Regions from separate parts of the Homo sapiens genome. Here regions 1, 2, 3, 4, 6 and 7 are each linked to region 5. The links are contacts of gene promoters, found by promoter capture Hi-C in blood cells and fetal thymus (Javierre and others, 2016). All regions are on one chromosome and are shown on one strand. The core of a region is centred on a gene start or on the middle of the fragment in contact, and the rest is flanking DNA. Distances in the headings are between cores, read along the strand shown.

Region 1 (2,960 bases), core at 171-2,670, 1.9 Mb after region 5:
TATGGTTTCAGTACACCTTTGGGAGCCTCACTGGATGAACAAAGCAGTAGTACACTCAAGGGTAAGAGAAGGTTGCCTTTCTAAATCTGTTCTTTATGACAGTTCTACTTCTTTGTCCTCTGGGTAAAAGTGTATATATGACTTATAAAAGTGATATTCATGTTTATAGTATATGCTATTCTGAGCTAGAAGCAAAATGGAGAAACTTTGTTATAAACCGTAAAACAGTAGGGAGTTTAAGCAAATTGCCTAGCCTTTTCACAACGTGAAACTTATATCTTTATTGTCCAGTTAGGTATTATAAAGACTAATTAAATATGAATATATAATATGCAAATATAAGGAAAATACTTATTGAGTGAACAAAAGTTTAGTCAACTTTCGTGCAGCATTTCTTTGCTTACATTTACTGAAATTGCCACACCTAAAATTTTACCACCTGTTCAAGACAGAATTCTAAAGTTCAAAGTACAACAAGCATGTGCAGGCAGTGGCAAGGCATATAAAAAAACATTTACAGTGTCAGGAAAATCCAGCTCCTGACTTAATATGAGATGGATAAGAAGAATATTTGCTCCAGGATCTGGTTTTCCATGAAACTCTTGGTATGTAGTCTGATTGAACATCTTCAAAAATATAAGTTTAAAACAGCCTATAGGTTGGCTTCTGAGAACTTTATGTTGCTGGAAAAGTGGTTTCTTTACGTTAAAGTAAAAGCTTATACCTGCTTCTTGAAGTTATATAATCAGAATAATGTCTGAGTACATTCAAGTCTGAAAGATTTTACTGTATAAGATATTTTGCTGGGTGAATTTAACTAAAACAGTGATTTTATATGAGGGTGGAGAGGAACAGAACACCAGGATGAGTTTTCAAATGTGTCTTTCAGGTGTGCTTGTGAGAAATGGAGGAAGTTTTGAAGATGATTTGTCATTGGGAGCTGAAGGTATGTTTGTTTGGAAGAACTGTATTTTTGTGTAGTTTTCAAATTTAAAAAAAATGAGAAAGCTGAATGGTTTCAGGTTTATGATCCTCAAGCTAAATTTAAAGGTCTTGAAAATGGCTCAGGCATATTTTACATTACCTTTCTTTGTTAATAATCTAGTCATAGTCTGTAGGATACATGTAGGGATGACTCTGAAAAACTATGTGAAGTGTCCATCTGTCTTTCTTGGACTAAATGCTTAAAGGAACAGTTTGTAACAAACCGTGGTAATATAACTGAGGGAAGAATTGTCCTGAAAAAGGAAGGACACTTAAATATTTATACATGGGAAAACAAAATTGAAGCTTATTTTTAGCGCAAAATAGACTTATGTCATACTTACAGCTGCAGCTTGTCTTTCTCTTTGCATTTAAGTGTCTCCTGTCTTTTCCCCATTTTCCTGATTTTTAGAAAATTAAAGGGGAAAGACAAAATAGCAGAGCTAATAGAATTTTATTAGAAATCATGCTGGTGTTTATTCCAGAAAGCATTAGATTTTAAAAAGTGTGTTGTGCTATTTAAAAGTTTTTACAAGTTATGTAATGTTTTCCAGTAGATTTATAATAAAGCTTTCTTGTACAAAAAATAAGAATTTTTAATTATTTTACTGGTGTTTTAAAAGCTATTTTATAGCTCATTGATCAAATTGCATAGATTATTCATAGCTGTATAGCTCAGTTATTAATGTGTACTTTTTTAAAAAAAACAAGGATTTTTAAAAAGTCTTTAAAGCTTACAAGTTGGTGAATAGTGAATTTATACATTGAATTTAATATTCTTGATTTTTTCCTGTTTCAAATGCATCTGTAAAGTAAATTACTTATTTAGAACCTTCTAACATTTAAAACTCTGGAATATGCAAATATATTAGTTCTTATTATTTCTGTTCATATATTTTCAAGCTCTATAAAGAGCTTAAACTTACTGATTCCCACTCAGTACAATTGAACATGTTGTCAATCCGTTATTAAAATGCACTTTGCACTTTTGATATTTGCCTTGGTAGTTTGATAATATTGAATGATTTTATTGGAAACCAGAACCTAAAAAGGAGTCTCATGAAAGAGTAAATCTATTATGTTGTTTTACTGAAAATTATTTCAAGGCTATTTCCATTCATTAAGTAAATAATTACTGAGTGCTGTGAGTTAGGCACCTTTCTGGTGGATGTACAAAGAAACACAAAATTGTCATAACTTTGTAGATCAGAAATGAAAAGCAATTCATGTGTGCTGAAATAGATGTGTTTATAATTAATTTTATTCTTTGTATTTGTCTATAAATTTAACTTTAAACATTAACACTTACCTGTTTAGAACTTTAAGCTAAAGTTCTATCATAAAGTTGAAAGGCAATTTTTAAAAGAAAGTTTATATTGAAATAAGTAGAAATTTTCATGTTATATGTGTGAAAAATCAGTTATAACCTTAAAAAAAATTCACATTAGAAACTGACATATACTATTGCCACACTTAATGTTAAATCATGTTTTCCTCTTAAGATATTATTCATTAATAGCTTTTAAATTTAATAATTAGTACCACATATATGGTACATATCTTCCTCATTACTTATTTCTAACCTGTTAAAGAAATTTAACTGGTTCCCTATACGTTTTTTTATTTTAAGCACTCAAGTGAGAGTAGTTAGTTTCATGTTGCCACAACACAAAAACACCCTTCAAAAGCTCCTGGCCCTGTTCTTATCTATCTGTATATCACTTTTAATAATGCAGATTTAATGGACCAAGATAAGTGTTTAATATATTTGGCATTTAATTCTAATATTGTAGGTAATTAGATTTCTTGATAATTGTATCATAGTAGTTATAGTCCTACTAACAATTGTGCTCTACGTTTATTGTTTTTACCTGTAGCCAACCACCTCCATGAAAGTGATGCTCAAATTGAAAACTGGTATGTAGCTGTTTTGTTCTATTTCTTTTAAAAAATGAAGACCTTTAATGAAAATAAAG
Region 2 (2,920 bases), core at 63-2,562, 1.5 Mb before region 5:
ATTCATTCCCTAAACTCAGGGTATAAAGTCCACCATCTTGTTTCTGTACGTCCATGATGATCAGGGTTGTCAGGTCATCTGTGTTTTCAATGTGGAACCTCCCCTGTTCTTGACTGTGGATTTTTCTTCCACCACAGGACCATGTTACTTCTGGGGTAGGCTCACCCGTGAAAGCACAGGCTACTGTTAGAACTTTGCCTTCATCAATGCTGATATCAGATGGAAGAGCTTCAATTTTAGGCGGAATTCCTTTATGGAACAATGACAAAAAAAAGGTCTTAGAATCACTGAAAAAAATAAAGATTTGCTTTCTACTGAATTGTGTGTACTAAAGACTACACCATGTTACTTGGCTTGTCTACCTCTACCAGTAATTTTATTGCTCACCTCTTATGCCTGCTTTAAGCATTTTACTAGTTGAGCTTTCCAGTTGTGTCATATTAGATATTCCCATAAAGCTGCTGGAACTCATTTCTACAAAGGACTCTTGCATGGAGGACATGCTTTGGGCAGACATGCTTGCAAATTTCATCTCAGTCATGCTGCTAGCACTGCTGCTGCTGAAACTGCTGAAGGAGGCCTCCTGCTTGGAGGCAGACATTTGGACTGACTGAGACGAGAAGCTTCCTTGCAAGCTTGTGTCACCACTTGTTCTCAATACTACCTCTCTGGAAGGTTCTTCAACTAGAGCTGTGGAGCATAGCAGATACACAGTGAACATCAATGACATCTGGTTAATTGATGACATATGACGCTGACTTACAGAAATGGAAACTTCAACACACACACAGCAGCATAACCCAAACAATTTGCTGTTGAAGCATAAGCAAATACATATATACATACATTTGTCAAGAGCTAGCTCAATGTCTCCAAAACATGAATCCTTATATTTCTATCATTACATTACATGCAGGTGCTAGGAATCACTAGGAGAAAAATGATTAGTCATATAGAAAGTAATTGACATATTGTGCATCCTGCAAATAAATGTTACACGGCAGTTGGTAGCTTTACTTTGAAATGTAATCTATCCAAGTTTCTGTGTAGCTATAAAGAAAGTTTGACTACAAGAATGAATTCACATCAGTTGGCTGTCCCTCTTTCACATGGAATTTAATAAGGCTTCTTAGAGTTTTCTGTGCTTGAAAGAGAGGCAAAAAAACGATCTAAAGGCCTTAAACATGTAAGGAAGAAGGGTGAGGAGATACTTACGAAGGACCATTAAGGAAGCTGTAGCTGAACACTGGCCACGGAAATTTTTGGCCTTAATTGTGTACTTTCCACTGTCGCTGACTGATGCATTTCGGATTTCAAGGGAGTATACATTTCTGGAGCGGCTTATGCTGACATTTGAAGAAATAGAAATCTAAGACAAAGGAAAAAGAAAAGAAATGTTGAAGTTCTTCAGATGTGGAAGACATGGTATTTTAGTTTTTCTTCAATAATATATTCATAATTAAACTTACTGGCAGGTTGTTTTTAAACCATTCGATTTCAGGGGATGGCTCGCCACTGATTTCACAAGTAAAGAGAACATTTTGTCCTTCATTAATATTTTGAGATCTAGGCTGTGAGATGAAGGCTGGAGCATCTGAGAGTTCTTTGCTCAGTGTCAAATCATACTGACACTTGACGATTCCTTCCTTGGTTTTGCTTATGCAGGTGAGGATTCCTTCATCTCTGTGACTGGCTTGCTTGATGGTTAGGGTCTGATCGCTGCCTGAGACACCATATCGGTACTCCTCAGAGTTGGTAAGCTCTACGCCATTCAGTACCCATTTCACATCAGTGGCACCAGCAATGTTGGCTTTTAAAACCAGTCTTTGACCTTCGTTTATGCTCATCTGAGTAGAAAATGCTTTAATCTCAGCATGAGTTCTGACTTCTTCTGATGCCTGTGATGTTTTAGTGATTTCCTCATGGACAATGGATTTTTCCAGGGAGGTTGCTGCTGATTTCTTGACTTCTTCAGAAATCAGAACCTTTGAAGCTTCCTCTTTGAGGGCTAACTTTTCTTGAGATTTTGCCTCTGACATCTTAATTTCTTCAGACCTTAGGGCTTTTTGGGAAATTTCCTCTTGGACAACAGCTTTCTTCTGAGGTGTAATTTCAGAAGTCTTTTGTGTAGAGACTTTCTGTGCCTCAGTATCTTTTATAGCTAAAAAAGAAACCTCTGTAAGGCAAACTTAATTAGAAAGAGACCCCCACCTTTTACTCTTCTAGATTCTGCGTGTGAAAAACATAAAAAGAAAAAAAGTCAACTTCTTCATGCAATGTAGGTAATACCTAATACTTTCTCAGTTCCACTTTTGGAAAATTATCATGTGTGACTTTTGAGATCACTGTAATGATTCCTTAAACTAAACTGAGCCAAAGATGATTCATATGACTTAAGGAAAAAAGTCTTGAAAAGAATAGTCAACGGATTTAGGAGATAAGTGGATTTGGGAGATTTTGAGTAACCAAAACATTAAATTATCTTTCAGAAGATTGAAATGAAAGCAAACTAATTTTAATTGGTAAAATAGAAATAGTTCTTTAATTAACTTTGCACTGCTTTGGAAAATTAGCAACTGTGAAGGTTTAGGCAAGTAGTGCCATTTTGTATATTCACTGACTTTATTCTTAAATATTCCTGGGAGCAGGGGCTGACACTATGGAATCTTATATAATACCACATATAACTAGGTACTTAATAACTGCTTTTTATGCTCATAGAAAAGCATATGCTAACTTCAAATGTGTGTTTCTGCTTTGGTGTACAAATTGTATTCTGGAATTAGGAAAATAATTTTATTTTAATACTTTCTTGTATGTGTATATAAGGGGGGATGTTTGAAAATATTTCCCTAATATTATCTTCTGAAGAAATGTGGGTAAAAACAAAAGCCAACCTACCTTTTATTGTTAATTTGCA
Region 3 (2,700 bases), core at 80-2,579, 1.7 Mb after region 5:
GGGGGGGTGCATTACATGATCAGGTCTATCTTTCTGAAAGATCACTCTAGATGAAGAGAGCAGATTGAGAGGAGCAAGCTGTGTGAAAGGGGAAACAGTTAACCTACTCGTGCAATACTGCAGGGAGGAGGTAATGGTGCTGTTGAACTTTACTGGTAGCAGTGGGAATGGACAGAGACAGACATGGACACAACTGAGACATTTAGGGATTAGAACAGATAGGACTGGGAGATTGATTGGGATGTGGAGTTTCTGGTACGGAAGGTTAAAATAGAAAGAAGGATCAAAGACGTCATTCAAATTTCTGACTTCGACCACTTGATGGATGGCTACAAATAGGGAACAAAGGAGAAAGTACAAGATTAGAGATGGAATTTGGCTTTCAGAAAATGCCACTGATGTACCTCAGAACAGCAATGACTGTATTTGTTTTCCGTAATTCCTTCTCCTAACTGAAAATTTAAAGATAATTGAATCAAATTGTTCCTTGGGTGACTTAGTTTTATATCTATACTTAACACAGGAATATCATTTCAAGGTGGCATTTCCTACAGATCTTCCCATAAGTCTGTGTATGTTCCTTAGACAGTGGTTTCAGAAATCACCAAATGATACAGGTAGAAAACATAGCTAAGCACGTGGCGCCATCTTCAGGACAGTTTGTTAAAAGCTTATAAACCAACCAGACTGAAAGGCAAGTTTCTCACAACAGAACACTGACTGACTCCATCTTGTTTGGTAATAAGGAGCTGAAAAAAATGTTTCTGCCAGCTCCAATTGTGTGACCAAACTCTTTGTCTTCATGAGAACTGTAGTTTATCACAGGATATAGAAAAGATGGTAGCAGATTTTTCTTCAAAATCCTTCCAGTTTGAAAGTGTCTGTGAGCTGGAAAATGAGCTTTTGCTGTGGAGGAGACAAGAAACTATGGCACCATCCCTTCAGGTTTTTTGCCTTGGTATTCAGATTCTCTGGTGATTTTCCCATTTTAGATATTTATGTTCTGTTCTTTACTAGGTGCTTCATTAAATATGTGGTCAAGTGGAATTTAACTTATAAGCATTCACAATGCTTTACAAATGCATGAATATAAAAAGTAGGGGGGAAAACATTTGTCAGATTTTGTACCCAAGGTTTTGGTTCAGGGAAAGCAGTCTTATAGATTTATACAGTCTCCATTTTAAAAATAAAAGGTTGTTAATAAGAAATCAATAGTAGACCCATAGCTAACCACATAAGAAAGACAAATAGAGCTTACTAGATGACTTTTATTTTTCAAATCCTCTCAGCTTGTAATTATTCTATTTGAGTAAGCTCCACCTTTTCTTTGTGCAGAGTTGGGCTATAAAGACACACACATATACATGTGTTTGTCATAATGTATCTGCCACCTTTCTGTGCTGGATGTGGTGTTTAACCTACACTGAGCATTTGGCATGGCCTCGCTGAATAACTGGGAGGTAAACTGCTTGGCTTTTACATGGAGGCAAATGCTTTCTACCATCTTGCAGCATTCACTCACAAATGGGCTTTCTTTCTAAACTTTTCTCATTAGAATGTATGCCTTGGGTTGAGGAATCTTAAATCCCAGAGTTCCTTTCAATCCTGAAAGAGGTAACATGTTAAGCTAAATTCCATTTCTGTATAAACTGAGGCCCTGGCCGCCCCATCAATGATGGGTTTGGGTTTCCTAGAGTCTGAATGGGGCTTATGACAGGTGGGCAGAAAGAGGGTATACACAGAAGGTATAGTATCTTATAGTAATTACGTGTTTACAACAGACCAGGTGCTTTACATGGGTTATTTCACGTAATCCTCATAACAACCTATGGACACTTTTTAAATGAATGAGTATTTTTAATATCTGTATTTTACAGATCAGGAAACAAAAACAGAGAATGAAATAATTTGCCCAAGGTCTTACACTCTCCTTTAAAGTAAACTTATAGAAATGAATTCTAACTCAGGCATTCACCCTCTAAACCCGACAAGCTTGATAGAAACCTCAAACTACCCTTAAATTGAAAATATCCTTATGGCACAGACCTGAAATAAACCTCCAATCAAGAATCAAGCCAATAATTCAGTAGAAGATTCAGAGAGCAAAAGATTTGGAACTGAAGGCAGAGGGCAGAACCCGGAATGATTCTCTGGAGTGCAGAAGTTCTTTTTAATGGTTCGAGAGTCTTGGAACTGCTTGGGCCACATGTGACAACACAGGTCCTTGAGACTTCAGAGGGTGAGTGTGGGAGAGACTGGCACTGCCACAGATGAGCCTGGAGGAATCCGGGAATTTACCATTGTCCTCTTCACAATTGTTTTTAGGATCAAGCCTAGAGATAAAGAGCCATGGTCTCTGAAAATAATGTTGAAAACACACTTACAACACAGCAGAAGCAGAAATAAATGACATATTTCACTCTGTTCATTCAGGCAGAGGTGGGTGCACAGAACATGGTGCTGCAATGGTCTCCTGAAGCTGAGGCCAGCTAACAGGCCCGCAGGCAAGTCAATGGGATGACCAGCAAGTGGGTGGCACCAGCAACAGGGACAAGCATACGGCTTAGAGTCTGAAACCCTGGTTCCAGGCTGAACACTGTCACTGACTATATGACTCTGGGCAATTCATTTAAATTATCTGAACTTTAATTTACTCAGCTGAAAAATGGCTGTAATAGCCACCAAATAGGATTGTTGGGG
Region 4 (2,987 bases), core at 488-2,987, 1.9 Mb before region 5:
AACAATTTGGTCATTGAGTGATGAAATGTTCTAAAATTGATTGCGATGATGCTTGCACAATGCTGTGAAGGCACTAAAAACGATTTAATTGAATACATCAAATGAGTGAATTGTATGATGTAAGAATTAGAACTCACTGGGTGTGGTGGGTCTCACCTGTAATCCCAGCTACTTAGGAGGCGTAGGCAAGAGAATCACTTAAGGCCAGTTCGAGATTGCCCTAGGCAACATAGTGAGACACCAATCCCTTAAAAAAAAAAAAAAAAAAGAAAAGAAAAAATAAGATAAGAAGAAGAATTATATCTCAATAAATCTGTTTAAAATAAATACATGTCATGAAGAAAATGTACTTACTTTTTTTAATTTATAAGTAAATTTCTAATTTTCCTTGAATATGTCATATTTCACATAATTGGATAGTAAAGAAATTTTGCTTTTCTGGCATTTTCCAATATTTGCGTTCCTGGTTTTGTTTTATGCAATCTTTTATCTTTTTTTGAGAAAAGAATTAACTGTTCTCAATAACAGCCTAAAATTTTCAGGACACCAATCAGTAGTCTTATTTCACAAAGAATAGAGATTGCCCAGTCAGGACAATTTAAGAAAATTACACATTTTCCACTAGATGGCACTGGTTTGCAAATAATATTGCTTTGCAGTTCCTCTCATCAACAAAACTCACACTATCAAATTATTTTCATTTACCTTGATTGTTGTGGGTAGGAAAAAGAGAAATGGAAAGTCAAGAAAAGATACTTCCTAGAGTTGTTCAGCCTCAGGGTAAACAGAACCCTCACTACAGATATGGAATGTAATACAAGGAGAAATTATAAAAATCTTAGTGCTAAATCCAGGGTGACAACCCACAATCCCTGACTCTCAGTAGTCATCACACAACTGTATAATATCAGTGGTGGGGGAGTGGATACCATAGTCAAAGGGAACAAGAAAATTAATCTCAATTATACCATTATACAAATATTATCTCATTTGATCTCTAAACTATGAACTCCATATATATTATCTTATATGAGCATAACTATATAAGGCTAAATGATTAACTCTGTGGGGGAAGAAGAGTAATTATTTTGTTCAATACTACATCCCTTCAGTATAACACAGTGCCTAACACATAGTAGATAGTCAAAAATACTTATTAAGTGAATGGGTGAATTAATTAAACTTGATAGTCATGCTCCTGCGTAGCTATTAGGCGGCTATCAAGCTTAACTAATCCAACCACAAAATAATATGTATTACCTATTTAGTAGGTAATATTATTCCTACTTTACAGTTAATGAAACCGAAGCTGCAAGTATTAAGTAACTTGTCCAGGCTCACACAATTCAGTAGCAAAACCATGTAACATAATCTGATATTACTTTGCATTATATATTTACATGTAAGATTTCCACAGTGGGGGAAAACAAGCCCTCGGGACATGTCTTTCCTGTTCCTCATTATATATCTAGCTCCTGGCATAGAGCCTGGCACACAGTTGGAGTACAATAAGTATTTATCTGGTTGACTTCATAGCAACCTAGGTCTTAGCATCCAGAACTTGTTCATTTGAAGAACTCCGCCCTCGGTCTACTTAGGGGTTTATTCCTTTCACTTCATTCCAATGCCACTGCTAAATCCAGGCCTTGTTTCTGGATTTCTACTGGGTTTCTGACCTCTCCTCTAAGGCTTGTTAACAAGAAGGCATTTCCCACTTTGCTTGCACTCTATGATTTCTCTTAGTTCCACAGCTGAGCAGTCCACCCTCACTGCCCTCCAACCCCAGGGTTGCTTGTAGAAGTTGAGTAAATCAACAGATGGAGTTAGTTCTGGGTTTTTTGTTGTTGTTGTTGTTGTTTGAGGTGGAGTCTCGCTCTATCCCCCAGGCTGGAGTGCAGTGGTGCAAACTCTGCTCACTGCAAGCTGTGCCTCCTGGGTTCACACCATTCTCCTGCCTCAGCCTCCTGAGTAGCTGGGACTACAGGTGCCCGCCACCACGCCAAACTAATTTTTTTGTATTTTTTTGGTAGAGACGGGGTTTCACCGTGTTAGCCAGGATGGTCTCGATCTCCTGACCTCGTGATCCGCCCGCCTCGGCCTCCCAAAGTGCTGGGATCACAGACGTGAGCCACTGCGCCTGGCCAAGTTAGTTCTGGTTTTAGTCGTACTTTTTATCTCTATTACTTTGGCTATGCTATAGGCCTCAGTTTCCTCATCTCTAACAAATGACGCTGAAATTGAATGATCTCAAAGCTTCCTTCCAACTCTAATGCTATATAGTTTGAACTCTGTCCTATATTGATCATCTATTGAGCTTATGACCAAGATGGTGACAACTCTCCACTTTGACCAAAACTTAGTTAGGCTCCTTTGAGTCCTCTGCTTGACTAGGCTTGATCTTGGGCTTTCTGTCCTTGTAGAATCCAATTTGAGCAAGAATCCTGCTGAATCAGTGTAGTGAAAATCCTCATTCTTGGTGTCTGACTACCATGGATATCAATCACCCTGGCCTGCCTTCAGCAACTATCCTGTCAAGTTGGTTTAGCCAGAATCCTCCTTAACACTGATGTTCCCTCTTTGTAATTTTCCATCCACTGACCTCCCACCAAGCTTCTTGGTTAGAAATTTGTCCTTATTAGAGTCAAAATTCAGTCCAATCTCTCTCTCCCACTGCAAGACCCCATTGCAGCTGTCCCTGGACCTATCTCCATGGCTCCCTTTGTCAAAGTCGGCCTTCCTGTACCATCTCTAACGAGTGTCATGAATAATTTTTTCTTTAACACTGGAAAGAATCCTTGGCCTTAGGGGTGGGGTAAAGCCAGCGTTGGGAAAGCCTGTGCATTAGGCAGCGCTGTTCTGCCTGCAGGGAACGATTGCACAACTGATAACTTGGGCCTAGGCTCAGCTGGATTTGAGGATTTGAGACTTAGACTGGGTCAGGGTCCCCCGCGTCGCCAGGGGGCGCTGCAGGCCGCTCCCCGGAAGGC
Region 5 (2,730 bases), core at 59-2,558:
CTGGTCAAAACCACACTTTTAATGTCAATTTTAAATCTGCCCTTCCATAGTAGGATGATAATTTATGTTAACTCCTGAATTCACAAGCAATCCTAAAACAAGGTAAGTCTAAATACAGATAAGAGGTAGGTTAACTGATCTGCTGAGAACCAAGTTTGCTTGCTTATCTGCTATTTCGAGTCTCTGCACATCTAAAAATGCAAAGGAAACTCTTACCTAATTCTTGCATCTAGAATAGCCTTTCTCCAAATCCTGCCTTCTCCACTTACCTCAGAAGAATTGTTAGGATTAAATGGAAATAGGTACCGTGGTTTTTGCAGTTAAACTCAGTGAAATTAACTATTATATTTCCGTTATATAATGCTGTGTTGTAGGACCCAGAGCTCGTTAGAGAGGTGGAGCCTGGAGACCCAAGTTTGGCAGTTATTACCTCACTGGAGATAGTTCAAGTTATGGAAGGATCAAGAATGACAGATGAAGCGGGCACATGAGAAGCGAAGTGTCTTCAAGACTAAACACTAGACACTATCAGTATTTACAGGGCAAATAAATGAAAAAGAAGACGCTAATGAAATTTAAAACAAATAGTCAAAGGGATATAATGCCGGCAAGAGGCATAAGAGTGCAAGTAATTCAACTAACTTTTAATCAACTAGATCTCATTAATCCCACTCCCCTGACCCTGGGACCCGGGCACTAGGAAAGGGGCTTTGGCAAGCCCCAATGGACTCCAGAGGCTCTAAGTATAAAACGCAGTGCACAAGAAACAACACAGCACCAGCGTTGGTGCAGGATTTCAGACAGCTCCAGGAACTTCACAAGGAAGGTCAGCCGGTCCGCTCAGGCAGTCAGTTCATGGCAGCCCATTCCCTCCCCACCTGCTTGGACCTAGCCGCTCTCACACCCCTCTTGCGGGCCCGAGCGTAGCGAGAAGACCCACGCACACTCCAATGCCGCTCACAGCCGTATCAGTGAGCCCGCACCCACTCCTGGGGGTCTTTTACTTCCCACCCGATCCGGCGACCCGCCACCCCCACTCCGCGTCTCTGCCTGCGGGGACTCCACGGAGTTCGATAATTACCTAGAGCTCCACCGCGCCGCCATTACACCGGACGTACGTCACTTCCTCTTCCCGAGCACCGACGGTAGGAAGAAGGCGAATAGTGAAATATTTAAAAACTTGACGCTCAATTGGCTTGACACGTTATCCCTTTAATTTATTTCAAATACCATATCATAATACCAGAGTCAAAGTAGTCGATCCAGGCACACTGTCTTGTTGCCAAAATGGCGACAAAAAAGAGAAGTTGGCATGAACTACAAAGTCCGAAATCCAGCGCCTGTGCTGACGGAAATGAGGAAAGCATAATTGTAGTTTAGCGTGAAATGGCGCGGTGTACGATGGGAATTGTAGTTCATACAGATGCGCGCCAGCGAGTTAACATCCACGCTGCTCACTGGCAGCCTAGTAGTGTTCAGGGTCTAGCCGAATTTACTTTAAAACTATTTCACTGCATTTTGGGGAAATTTTTTTTAAAAAAGCAGTCAGTTGTCACTTTCCTTGAAAAATCTTAAGAGAGAGATTTTCCTGAGACTTTATAAGAGTTTGACCAACAGTTAAGTGCCTAATAAATTCCAAGATATCCAGGCCATAAGAATGGGAGAATATTAAATCATAAATAGAGTGAAATAATGAGGAAAAACTAATTCTATAGAGACTGTGTTGCCTCTCTTTTAGGTTAAGGTACCAACTGGTATGACCTGAGAATAAAGAGATTGCCTGGCTGAGTAGGAAGTAGCAGTTTGTACAGCGTGCAGAACTAGGGCATCAAACAGTTTCTTTAAACTTCACTTTTCACTAGTAACAAAACCTAAAAGTTCAACTACTTGCTATTTTGGAAACTCTCTTCCTAAACCAAGAATATCTTTATGTTATCAAATCTTTCATAAACCAGGACTGGTTTCTCCACACACTTCTCTATTACAGTTTTAGGGTGCTGTGCTTCCACTCCTTTCTGGAGGCAGAGTGTGATGATTAAGAATAAAAACACTGCAGTTGGACTACTTATTTTGAATCTTGAGTCCTTTTATTATTTATGGATGACTGGGGCAAGTAACTTCACATTCTGTGGCCGTTTCCTGATCTGTTAAATGGAAATACCAATAGTATCCATCCAGGCAGTAGTTTTAAGAATTGAATTAGTTGATACACAAGATGCATTTAAGATAATTGCTAGTATACAATAGTGTTATCTATTTTATTTCATATTTAAGATATTTGGCCATTGTTGATGGTGCATTTTGGTGCACCAATACAGGGCACAGGAGATGGATCTGGAGATGAACATTTGTATTCATATATTTAAAAACCCACAATACTACCGGTGATGGTTAATTCTGAATGTCAACTTGATTGGATTGAAGGATGCAAAGTATTGATCCTGGGTGTATCTGTGAGGGTGTTGCCAAAGGAGATTAACAGTTGAGTCAGTGGACTGGGGAAGACAGACTCACCCTTAATCTGGTGGGAACAATCTAATCAGCTACCATCGAATATAAAGCAGGCAGAAAAATATGAAAAGGCAAGACTGGCCTAGCCTCCCAGCCTATATCTTTCTCCCATGCTGGATGCTTCCTGCCCTCAAACATTGGACTCCAAATTCTTCAGTTGTGAGACTCAGACTGGCTCTCCTTGCTCCTCAAGCTTGCAGACAGCCTATTGTGGGACCT
Region 6 (2,729 bases), core at 181-2,680, 1.5 Mb after region 5:
CCTTAATTTTCTTCTTGCTCAATTGTCTTAACTGAGTGTTGACTATAAATTCATAAAAATTTTAGTATTTTCAGAGGGAACTTATTAACATGGCTATTGTAGTAAATAACAGGAACTTCATGTAGACTGAATCTACCATTTGTTATCTATTTTTGACAGTAAACAATTGATTTTAGTGAAAACTGAAAATTGTATTATAATGAAAATTAAAATGCCTTGTTTGTCATTCTCTTTTAATTTAAATTTTGTTGGTTTGGCATTAGGTAGCCACAATAACAACTCCCTATTTTAGACCTTACCTATCTCCCACACACAATTTTTTTTCTCCTACCATCTTCCCTCTGTTTTCCCCTTCTCTTTTCGTGTCATTTCTCTCTTCATCCCTTCCTTTCTCAAGTTAACACGGAGACCTTATGTGTCCACCTGGACTGTTCTTTACCAAGGTTTGGGCCACAGCAAGACTCCTTTCCAATTCTAATAGCAACCATTGCCAATCAACCCCAGCATTCTTTGTCCAGACCTAGTCTTAGTCCTCCTCCCTTCAGTCTAGTTCTCCAGGAAGCCATTACCAGTTAGTGGGGGTTGCCATTTATTCTATGTGTATGCTGTCGAGAAAAACATTCTCTGCATTTCACAGTAACAGTGTTCCTGACCATGAGAACCACTTAGGGCAGGGGTCCCCAATCCCTGGGCTGTGGATGGGTACTGGCCCGTGGCCTGGTAGGAACTGGGCTGCACAGCAGGAGGTGAGCAGTGGACCAGTGAGCATTCCCGCCTGAGCTTTGCCTCTGTCAGATCAGTGGTGGCATTAGATTCTCGTAGGAGTGCAAACCCTATTACGAACTGCACAGCCGTGGGATCTAGGTTGTGCTTTCCTTAGCAGAATCTAATGCCAGATGATCTGAGGTGGAACAGTTTCATTCCAAACCTTACTACTGCCCATGGAAAAAATTGTCTTCACGAAACCAGTCCTTGGTGCCAAAAAGATTGGGAACCACTGACCTAGGGTAATCAGGGCCTCACCTGGATCTGCTGGAGCAGAATCTCCAGAGGAGGAGCTCAAACATTTTCTTCACTTCAGTTGTGATTAAAGGTTTTGTTTTTCCTGAATGACATTTTAGAAAACGAAAGTATAAACAAACATCTTCCCACACTCCTTAAACAAAATCTCTCCTACCCAGGAGACTTAGTGCAAATAATTTCACTTCTCAAATATTAGCCTTACCAGGCATAGTGGCTTATGCTGGTAATCCCAGCACTTTAGGAGGTCAAAGCAAGAGGATCACTTGAGGCAAGAGTTCAAGACCAGTATGGGTAACATAGTGAGACCCCCATTGGTACCAAAATAAAAATATTAGTTTGTATCTCTGTAAGTGTTCTGAGTTTGCCCAGGAAGCTACATTTAGGGGTCAACATTATAGGAGGAGACAAAGTGCCAATGATATAGAGAATGGTCACCATAAATTCATGAAAACTTGGTACCTAGTGACTAGTGTTCAAAATTAACAAACCGAAGTTCCACATCCTTATCCAATCAAATTGATGCTAATGTATTTATCTGCCAGGAATTAAGAACAGATGCAATAGAATTGTCATATGCCAACTGAAGAGGGTGAAAAGAAAGACAGCAAAAAGAATATTAGGATACTGCATCTTACTCTTCCCCAAAGTAACTTATTTAAAATTACTTAACATGGGATTTTAATAGGAACCCAGCTATAACACAAATAATTTTTTCTAACAAAAGAAAATAATGATCACTGTGAAGACCACTTCTTATATAGTATAGAAGTACTATCTAGTACATGAGCATTTTATTTATGTTTGGCTATTCATGCATTTGCCAAAGTATCTATTGAAGTTTTTTGTTTACTACTGAGATAATCTGGTTTCCAAATCACTTTTATCTCTGTTGAAAACATGAGTCATATTCCAATAAATGTAAACATAGGGCAGTTTCTTATAAACGCAAGGCATTATTGGTATGCTAATTGTATGTTCCACTTTCTGCATGCTTAATCATCACCTTCCAGCTCCAATAAATTGTACCTTAATTGCTGAGGATGTATTATAGTCTTTCTATTCTTAATATCTCAGTAGAAGAAACATTTTTAAAAGTGCTCTGATAATATTGCTTACGTTGTTAGATAAATGGCTAATTCTTTTCCAAACGTTAGACACAGCAGTTATAGTTGCACAACCTGGTATTAGCTTTAAGTGGTTTTCCCCACTCCTAGTCCTGTTAGCTATCTCTTATATGATTGAGTCTATCTTTTTATGGTGCTACCAGTCAGAGGTCATTTCTACAACCAAAGTCACCTTGTATTAGAGAATAATTAGTTGGCACAGAGTAATTCACATTTATCCTCACATTGTGCACTGAATATAAGATAGAGAAGTAGTTAACAGAAAAATACTGGGGATGAGTGCACAGTTTTCTCTTCTTTTGTAGAATGTTTTCAATACAACTGATAAAATTATTTTCACATGCTATAGGTAGCCCTAATGGAGAACCTTGTGGAAAGACTTGTTTGGAAGAGAGAGACAATCAGTGGTTGGGGGTCACACTTTCCAGACAGCCAGGAGAAAATGGATCCATCGTGGTAGGTATTGGAACTGGTCCACAGATCCATCGTGAAATCAGCTATCCTGGGTGCAGCTTTCACATCATTTGGTCTACTTTTATTTTATTCAGACTTGTGGGCATAGATGGAAAAATATATTTTACA
Region 7 (2,841 bases), core at 284-2,783, 1.5 Mb after region 5:
CCAGAGCTGACCGAGACAAATTCTTCAACTTCCTGTCAGTCCCAACATAGATTTAAAATTCCTAACCTGGCTCATGAGGTTCACCATGTATTCCTGCTTCCCTAAGTCAGCCTCATATCACACCAACCTGTGTGTGGAGTGGCTAAATACTCTAGCCAGGCAAGCTCTCTCAGTTCTTCTACCTGGCTCCTCTGGAGCCCTCCTTATTGCTCATCCCATTCTTAGCCTGATTCAAGATTCCTGGTCCTTCAAATCTCTCTTTAAGTGTCCTTACCTGGATCTTTCTCTAGTTAGTACAAATTTTTCTATCTACCATTGGAGCGAACATTTTTTGAAACTTTGTATCAGTCCTGCCTTACTCTTGGTGGAATCCTGTGGTCCTAGTCAAGTGCCTGCTCCATGAATGTGCTGAATAAATGAATAAGCATTTTAATTGTGTATCTGTCATTAGTGTCAGATGTGTTATTTATTCCAGCATGGTTTTAGCACACAGACACACTCTTTGATGCAGACTTTTCTTTTCTTTTTACATATAGCAACAATAAAAAACTAGACTTTCATCTCCTGAAAATATCAGTCTAATAATCACCTATGGCTGTCTCTCTGGTTGCTGAAGGAAAAAAAAAAAAAAGGCAGGGCACACCTGGATTGCATTAGAATGAGACTCACTACCCAGTTCAGGTGTGTTGCGTTGTGGGTCTCCGGCACATTTCAGAGGCTCATTAGGACCCTGACCCCACACTGGGGTTTACACCCCTAAAAGCAGGTGTGTCCCGTGGCAACTGAGTGGGTGCGTGAAAAGGGGGGATCATCAATTACCAGCTGGAGCAATCCGAATCGGTTAAAGTGAATCAAGTCACAGTGCTTCCTTAACCCAACCTCTCTGTTGGGGTCAGCCACAGCCTAAACCGCCTGCCGTTCAGCCTGAGAGGCTGCTGCTAGCCTGCTCACGCATGCAGCCCGGGCTGCAGAGGAAGTGTGGGGAGGAAGGAAGTGGGTATAGAAGGGTGCTGAGATGTGGGTCTTGAAGAGAATAGCCATAACGTCTTTGTCACTAAAATGTTCCCCAGGGGCCTTCGGCGAGTCTTTTTGTTTGGTTTTTTGTTTTTAATCTGTGGCTCTTGATAATTTATCTAGTGGTTGCCTACACCTGAAAAACAAGACACAGTGTTTAACTATCAACGAAAGAACTGGACGGCTCCCCGCCGCAGTCCCACTCCCCGAGTTTGTGGCTGGCATTTGGGCCACGCCGGGCTGGGCGGTCACAGCGAGGGGCGCGCAGTTTGGGGTCACACAGCTCCGCTTCTAGGCCCCAACCACCGTTAAAAGGGGAAGCCCGTGCCCCATCAGGTCCGCTCTTGCTGAGCCCAGAGCCATCCCGCGCTCTGCGGGCTGGGAGGCCCGGGCCAGGACGCGAGTCCTGCGCAGCCGAGGTTCCCCAGCGCCCCCTGCAGCCGCGCGTAGGCAGAGACGGAGCCCGGCCCTGCGCCTCCGCACCACGCCCGGGACCCCACCCAGCGGCCCGTACCCGGAGAAGCAGCGCGAGCACCCGAAGCTCCCGGCTGGCGGCAGAAACCGGGAGTGGGGCCGGGCGAGTGCGCGGCATCCCAGGCCGGCCCGAACGCTCCGCCCGCGGTGGGCCGACTTCCCCTCCTCTTCCCTCTCTCCTTCCTTTAGCCCGCTGGCGCCGGACACGCTGCGCCTCATCTCTTGGGGCGTTCTTCCCCGTTGGCCAACCGTCGCATCCCGTGCAACTTTGGGGTAGTGGCCGTTTAGTGTTGAATGTTCCCCACCGAGAGCGCATGGCTTGGGAAGCGAGGCGCGAACCCGGCCCCCGAAGGGCCGCCGTCCGGGAGACGGTGATGCTGTTGCTGTGCCTGGGGGTCCCGACCGGCCGCCCCTACAACGTGGACACTGAGAGCGCGCTGCTTTACCAGGGCCCCCACAACACGCTGTTCGGCTACTCGGTCGTGCTGCACAGCCACGGGGCGAACCGATGGTGAGTAGAGTTGGACTGATGCGCCCTCAGCAGCTCAGAGCGGCGTGAGAATGGCGCCCTAGGGATTCCCTGCCCGATTCAAACTTTCCTCCCTCCCAAGGAGGCAGGAGGGAAACGCTGCGAGAGCCAGCTCGCTGGAAATCTGCCAGGGAAACTAACTTATCTTGGGGCGGCAGCGCCCCGGGTGCGTTATGGTGCAAGGTCTTGGAGCTTCGAGTCGGGGGTGGTGGGCGGAGGAGGAGGTGGGGAAGCTGCCCTGCTGCGGACTGCACATCTGTGGCGACAGGGAGCTCAGTGGGCAGCACAGCTCACGTCTGAGCGCACGTGCACGTGTCTCGCTTTAGGCTCCTAGTGGGTGCGCCCACTGCCAACTGGCTCGCCAACGCTTCAGTGATCAATCCCGGGGCGATTTACAGATGCAGGATCGGAAAGAATCCCGGCCAGACGTGCGAACAGCTCCAGCTGGGTGAGTTGGGTATGGGACCAGGAGTTAGTGACCTCCCGACCCCCCATGTGGACCCCACCATAGGGCAAGTCCTGGAAAGATTCACGTTGCCTGTTACTTCTGGTTTAAAGAGCATAAAGTTTTCAGTTTCAACTCCATCTCATCTTGCCTCCTTAATATAAAAGGGATTCCCTTTCTGTTAATATCGTTCTCCCTTTTCCTTATGGCAATGATTGCAGTACTCTGACAACTATGCTAGAGAAATTTCTTATGATACCTTCTCTTCATCTCTCCCCGTCTCTCCGTGTGTAAAGCACATTTTAGACTCTCTCAGCGTATTAAGGACAGGATCCAGCTAAGCCAAGACTTGAGAATTTTATTTCCATCTTTGACCTAT

The links. The method cuts DNA at HindIII sites, captures the fragments that hold promoters and counts their contacts. A CHiCAGO score of 5 or more calls a contact.
Region 1: a contact is called between a fragment that was not itself captured here and the fragment with the promoter of CWC22 in region 5, in 8 of 17 cell types (total B cells, total CD8 T cells, non-activated CD4 T cells and 5 more). The highest score is 12.9, in total B cells.
Region 2: a contact is called between a fragment that was not itself captured here and the fragment with the promoter of CWC22 in region 5, in 2 of 17 cell types (non-activated CD4 T cells and monocytes). The highest score is 6.9, in non-activated CD4 T cells.
Region 3: a contact is called between a fragment that was not itself captured here and the fragment with the promoter of CWC22 in region 5, in 2 of 17 cell types (total CD4 T cells and total B cells). The highest score is 5.2, in total CD4 T cells.
Region 4: a contact is called between a fragment that was not itself captured here and the fragment with the promoter of CWC22 in region 5, in 2 of 17 cell types (activated CD4 T cells and naive CD8 T cells). The highest score is 5.3, in activated CD4 T cells.
Region 6: a contact is called between a fragment that was not itself captured here and the fragment with the promoter of CWC22 in region 5, in 1 of 17 cell types (monocytes). The highest score is 8.1, in monocytes.
Region 7: a contact is called between the fragment with the promoter of ITGA4 here and the fragment with the promoter of CWC22 in region 5, in 4 of 17 cell types (total B cells, naive CD4 T cells, non-activated CD4 T cells and 1 more). The highest score is 7.8, in total B cells.

What each region holds. Positions count from the first base shown.
Region 1 is chr2:181,896,019-181,898,978 of GRCh38, forward strand. ITPRID2 (ITPR interacting domain containing 2) reads left to right here. Exons shown (of 18, transcript NM_001130445.3): 3 at 12-61; 4 at 890-946; 5 at 2,862-2,901. Among named protein-coding and RNA genes, the nearest start is that of ITPRID2, 5.8 kb to the left of the region's middle. The HindIII fragment of the contact is 264 bases long and covers 1,289-1,552 here.
Region 2 is chr2:178,527,059-178,529,978 of GRCh38, forward strand. It overlaps TTN (titin), which reads right to left. Exons shown (of 363, transcript NM_001267550.2): 359 at 2,902-2,920; 360 at 1,470-2,161; 361 at 1,216-1,369; 362 at 388-690; 363 at 1-249. All of the region lies in intron 1 of TTN-AS1 (TTN antisense RNA 1), which reads left to right. Among named protein-coding and RNA genes, the nearest start is that of TTN-AS1, 5.3 kb to the left of the region's middle. The HindIII fragment of the contact is 1,358 bases long and covers 634-1,991 here.
Region 3 is chr2:181,714,578-181,717,277 of GRCh38, forward strand. No RefSeq gene overlaps it. Among named protein-coding and RNA genes, the nearest start is that of NEUROD1, 35 kb to the left of the region's middle. RefSeq lists an enhancer at 529-578. The HindIII fragment of the contact is 1,322 bases long and covers 669-1,990 here.
Region 4 is chr2:178,109,405-178,112,391 of GRCh38, forward strand. No RefSeq gene overlaps it. Among named protein-coding and RNA genes, the nearest start is that of RBM45, 1.5 kb to the right of the region's middle. The HindIII fragment of the contact is 1,028 bases long and covers 1,224-2,251 here.
Region 5 is chr2:180,005,989-180,008,718 of GRCh38, forward strand. CWC22 (CWC22 spliceosome associated protein) reads right to left here and starts at 1,309. Exons shown (of 20, transcript NM_020943.3): 1 at 879-1,309. RefSeq lists an enhancer at 457-989. The HindIII fragment of the contact is 3,569 bases long and covers 1-2,702 here.
Region 6 is chr2:181,472,464-181,475,192 of GRCh38, forward strand. ITGA4 (integrin subunit alpha 4) reads left to right here. Exons shown (of 28, transcript NM_000885.6): 3 at 2,497-2,603; 4 at 2,696-2,729. Among named protein-coding and RNA genes, the nearest start is that of ITGA4, 16 kb to the left of the region's middle. The HindIII fragment of the contact is 5,302 bases long and covers 1-2,729 here.
Region 7 is chr2:181,455,853-181,458,693 of GRCh38, forward strand. It overlaps ITGA4 (integrin subunit alpha 4), which reads left to right and starts at 1,534. Exons shown (of 28, transcript NM_000885.6): 1 at 1,534-1,999; 2 at 2,344-2,465. The coding sequence starts at 1,803. RefSeq lists enhancers at 1,041-1,150, 1,871-2,060, 2,121-2,170, 2,531-2,580 and a silencer at 1,331-1,720. The HindIII fragment of the contact is 9,740 bases long and covers 1-2,841 here.